Linked DNA regions of Homo sapiens: region 1 is linked to region 2. Evidence: promoter capture Hi-C in human tissues and cell types (Jung and others, 2019). All regions are on one chromosome and are shown on one strand. The core of a region is centred on a gene start or on the middle of the fragment in contact, and the rest is flanking DNA. Distances in the headings are between cores, read along the strand shown.

Evidence for each region. Contacts are between HindIII fragments. The study calls those that stand out against the background at their distance.
Region 1: a contact is called between a fragment that was not itself captured here and the fragment with the promoter of AKAP6 in region 2, in 2 of the 25 tissues and cell types used here (dorsolateral prefrontal cortex and hippocampus).

Annotation. Positions count from the first base shown.
Region 1 is chr14:32,428,509-32,431,208 of GRCh38, forward strand. All of the region lies in intron 1 of AKAP6 (A-kinase anchoring protein 6), which reads left to right. Among named protein-coding and RNA genes, the nearest start is that of AKAP6, 100 kb to the left of the region's middle. The HindIII fragment of the contact is 6,611 bases long and covers 1-2,700 here.
Region 2 is chr14:32,327,985-32,330,684 of GRCh38, forward strand. It overlaps AKAP6 (A-kinase anchoring protein 6), which reads left to right and starts at 1,314. Exons shown (of 14, transcript NM_004274.5): 1 at 1,314-1,424. The HindIII fragment of the contact is 5,497 bases long and covers 1-2,296 here.

The DNA.
Region 1 (2,700 bases), core at 39-2,538, 100 kb after region 2:
GAGAGGAGGAGCCAAATGATTAATCCTGAAGGGCCGTTAGGGAAAAAACCATTTACAGTGAGTACAATAGGCAAGATACCCGGCTTTTCTGTTCTTTTATTTAAGAGAGAAAATTGTAAAAGAAAGGAGAGAGAGGTGGGAAGCTTTGATGGCGATGTAGCTGAACTTTTTTGTCTCCTGATTTGGTCGAATGAACTTTTCTGATTTAAATGTGTTTGTTTATTCAAGTTGAATGCATTCTGCTAGCGTCAAGCTCCAACCCAAAACTTGTGGACATGAGATCGCAGAAACAGTCCTTGTTAGTAAGCCATCCATGGCATGTTTCTATAGGATGATAAATAGAATAAGGTGGAAAAACCCTTTTATAATTTAAAAAAAAGCCTTAAAATCATTACTGCTTTCAGCTATTGCACTTTAATTATTGCCTCTTCTTTGGATTTGTGTAAAGGAAGGGATTTGATGGATGTTATTTTTAACAGCAGCTGGGATAAAGGTGGTATTATCGCTAATGCTGGAAAGGTGGCCGCAGACAAGCATTTGATTAGGGGGAGGGAGATGAGAGGTCACTGGGTTCCAAAAAGCTGTCTGATCACTCCTTTCACACCGTCTTGGAGCCAGAGTTGTAACTCGGTAGGCACCTGTGTGCACTTGATCAAATTTTTTTATTTTCACCATCAGAACTTGTAGTCTAAGCTTTTAAAAAAATGTCTCTGTGACTAGAAAGGAATCTTATCTCAAGATGACTTGTAAACAAGAATTCAAATCTTATATTATTTACAGATATAGACTCATGCTCAATTTCCTGCTTTCTGTTTGCATTCAAATGGAGTAATTAGTTTGATGGGAAAGAAACTTGAATAGTCCTGATAAGAACAAGAAAAATATTCACAAAGACTGTTACTATACGTTTCTACAATTTGAAGCATTTTTAAAAAATTATAATTTATCTTTAAAATCAGATGTGATTTTGTTAAAATCAGAAAAAGAGTATGACCATCCATATATGCTACATTTAAATGTGAACTACTAAAAATTGAAAAATGTTTGTAGTAATTGCTTTTCATGAAAATGGGCAATTAATCCATTTTATGCTACTACCCAGGCTTGCTGTGCTTAATGACACATATACCATTCTTTTCCTAGTGGCAAAGGTATATGTGAAGGAAAGTAAATAGAAGTTGAAATGAAACTTGAGTAAAGCACGCTTTGTTTTATCTCTATGGGTTATAGAAATTCTCTTGTGTGTAGTCTGATCAGTTGAATGTGGAAACATAGCATCTAGTTAGAAGTTTTATAGTTACAGGAAAATTTTGCTTTGGCAGCTTGAATGTAAGATTTCTTTGTACTTGACTCATATAGGATGCACATCTTCTCCTCTCCAGCTATGCTTTTGTTTCATATTTTTATTTTATTCTGGTTTGTCTTCTACATATATAACCACATCTGTTTTGTCAGTCTTAAGTGGCAAACTTCTAGAGGGGAGAATCTCCCATGTTTGTTCCTCTGGGAAGAATTAACAACACAAAACGTGTAAATAATGACTTACAAAACGCTGTTTTCATGATAGTAATTTATTCCTTTTCATTAAGTAGGACACATCTATCAATAATACTTGTAGGCTTTGACAAAATGGAGAACCATCATTTAGTAGCTACACAGCTCTCAAGATAGGCAGGAAACTTCCAACAGCTTTGAAATCTCTGGATAAATAACCCTAGGCAATCACAGATTCTTAGGGCAAATGGGATCCTATTGACTATCTAGTTCCGTTTTGTCATTTTACAGATGAAGAAACTGAGGCCAAGAAATGTATGGAGGATTTTGCCCCAAATCATATAAAACTGCAGTGTGCTTAGTGCGTGGACTGATGGTATATATGGAAATGTTGCAGGTTGGGACATAAGCTAATTCTTTAGTGTGTTTTTTAGTTTACGGTAGGATGTGTATTCCCAAGAAGGCCCTGCCTTGACTTAGGAGTTTCAGAGAAAACACGGTGACTAAGCACTGTTTTTTCAGTTGTGCAGGGCTTTGGGGCAGGGTTTTGCGGTGAGTGTGTATGTGTCAGTGTAGCTTAAACAGTTCATTGTATGCTGCCCTGGCTCAGCATTCAGTTTTCTAGTTTCAGTGACTCTGGCTTCTTAGAAGAGGGAACCACTGTGACACCAGTGTCTTCATTTATAACCAGTTCTAAGTTCTTGACCTAGAAACCTTATTAACCTTTATGTATCAGATTCCTTCTATAGCATTGTGATTCTAAACTTACCCCCAGAGGGCAGTGGGTCGATTAATAATTTTTTTTAAATATTAAAAATTTGGGGCTGGGTGCGGTGGCTCATGCCTGTAATCCCAGCACTTTGGGAGGCCGAGGTGGGCGGATCACGAGGTCAGGAGATGGAGACCATCCTGGATAACACAGTGAAACCCTGTCTCTACTAAAAAAAGTACAATTAGCCAGGCATAGTGGCAGGCACCTGTAGACCCAGCTACCTGGGGGGTTGAGGCAGGAGAATGGCGTGAACCCGGGAGGCAGAGCTTGCAGTGAGCTGAGATGGCACCACTGCACTCCAGCCTGGGCAACAGAGTGAGACTCCATCTCAAAAAAAAAAAAATTGGAGAAATTGGAATCAGCCTGAGGCTGGGGTATGGTTTATGAAGAAGTGGTATGGTAGCTCACTCTTCCTGGAGTTTTATCCCTCTCAG
Region 2 (2,700 bases), core at 64-2,563:
GGCATTTTATTAGCTCCTGTTTACAGAGACACTGCCTGAATTCCTTCTGCCACTCATCCCACACCGCCTATGCTGGTGGTTAACAGTGCCATTTTAAAATCTCAAGCAGGAGGAGACAACATAATTGTCTCATGTTTTAAGCTTTTGGAATGTTGTTCTTTTTCAGAGTTGTGAAGACGGAGTGGATACAGGTCAACTTGATTCTGCTTTTCTCTATCAATGGCCTGCAAATATTAAATATGCAAAACATAGGCTGCTCTGTCCATATCTCCTTCTCCCCAGTTCTCACCACATGACGTTGATTTCTGCTCAGGACTGGAAAGAAGTGATTGCTTTAGATTTGCTTTTCTTTTACCAACTGGAGAAATGCCTTACCGTGTCTTGTTTAAATGTGGCTTTTCACACAGTTCCAGCTTTTGGGGTTGGGGAGGGGCACAAATAATCTGTGTGGTAGGCAGTTTTATTGTTCAGAAAAGAAGAAAACAGACCCCAATGTTTGGAATGCCAACGATTTAGGAAGTTTCTAGCAGGTCTGCTACTTGTTCCAACCACTAGGTTTGATCCCAGAAAAGACTCACATGCGTTTTGGCCATGAGAAGGAGGGGTTCCCTGCAGGCCAAAGGAAGGGTCAGTAGAAGTTGAGGGTGGTGTGTTGTGCCCCTCTAGATTCCAAACTTCCCTTTGCTGCCTATCTGATGACCAGGTGAAAGCTGGGTTTATTCTGCATGGGAAGGTTCTGTGGGTTGGTGTTCATCAGGGAAAATAACCAGGACAGACTTCATTGGCCAAGGGTTTGCCCATGTTTTGAGAATTAAAACTTGTTTACTTGAGAGTTAGAGTCATTTGGTCAGCTGTTTATATTCCATTTTTAATTATTTTTGTGCTCGCTGTTTTGTTCTTTTGGTCTTTGACAGATGAGCAAAAATTCTTTTTAATAACTTTTAAAAAGCTATCCCAGTGCTGACCAGGGAGGAAAAAGTGATCAAATTGTCTAATAAGGAAACATTGTACATTTCAGTTTTTATTTGCTTAGTACTAATTCTATTTTCTCCTCCCACCTTTTTTTTCTAAATGTATAACAACAAAGGGGGAGATAATTTTTGTTTTTTCCAAAATGCTTTCAGGGAAATCCCTTTTAAACCTATGGATTTTAGTCCAATGAGGAATCCTCTTCCTTTGGTCTAAATTTTGCATATCGTCTGTTTCTTACAGGGCTTCCGTATTGTCTCAGGCTCCACTGGAAATGCAGCAAGGATTCCTAGCACATCCCAGTTGCCATAGCAACAGCAGTCTTTCCCATAATGAGCTGCATCATCTGAACTGATGTCACAGCATCATGCAGCAGGTCAAACAAGGCATCTCCTAGTATTGCATCCTACAGATGTGCTGTAAACATCAAAAGAAGACGGTGGGATCAGGAGATGGTGAGTGTTAAATGTCTGGGCCTTAATTGCACGGCTGTTTTGTTGGTTAGTCGGTGTCTGCTAAGGCGGAGATTGGGGGATGTTGTCTCTGCTTAAAATGGACTGGGGAAAGAAGGGCTGTTTTACCTAAATCGTTTTTCAGGCTGCCGGGTTAAGACAAAGGCCTGTAAGAGTCATATAGGAATTAAAATATGTAGAATTATTCTTGCTCCAGCTCTGTCTGTTATTTTTAAGTGTTCTTACAGAATTTTTCATAAACATAAGATGATTTTTCAATTGCAAAACCCCAGATAAGCTTTAAAATGAGTAGTTAACAGTATTTAAGCATTGTAAAAATATAGATTTCTTTTTGGGAGGCAGAGCTAATTGGCCCCCTCTTTGCTCTTGTGAATTATGAAATATTCAGTGATTTGCAGTATGAAATTCATTATTTACCTCGGTTGGGTTTCAGTTTCTTCATGGCAAGGAACAAATGCTGAATAAGCATTTGACATAACCCTGATGTGAAAGGGGATCTCTTGCATATTCAAGACAGAATTTATTAAAAGCATAAAAACCTAAACCAAATGAAATTATTTGAGCCTTTTGATCTATATGGTAGTTCTTCAACCCATGTCCTTCAGAGTTAGTTGAAAGACTGCCACATATTTTTCCATCTCTAGCTAGTCTCTGAAATAGCTGGAGTTGTTTGCAGGCTGACTTGTAACTGAGAAAGGAACAAGTCTCCTCTCTGCGGCAGTTGCAGTGAAGGGTAACCCTGGGAGAGCCTCTGAAGTGGCAGTGGTGTTGCCATCCCTTGCTTAACTTTAACAAAAATCTGGGTATGATGAATAAATATCAGGGTCCTCAGTGGTTGTAGGGATTACAGACCTCTGGACTCAGTCATAACCTCAACTCAATTCCAAAACTCTAAACACGTATCATTTTCATTTCAACTCCTAGCTCTGTTTTTAGGCATCTTTATTATTATTATTATTTTCTAAAAAATTAGTCTGACAGTGTCAGATAAGGAGCAGAATGTTGCCTTTTGTTTTGGGAAATGAAATGGATTTCCCTGGTACAGCTGATTGCTACTAGGGGAGAGAAAGGAGGAGGCACATGTCAGTTCAATTGATCAATATGTCCACTTAGAATCAGGGAGTGGTCTTGTGGCTTAATGCTGCCAAATTGATAGTTTTTACTCAAAAAGTCTTACACGAAAGAATGGCAACCATTGAATTCCTCTTCTTTTAGTCTGTTTATTGGGGCTAAAGAGATATATCATGGAAAGCAGGAA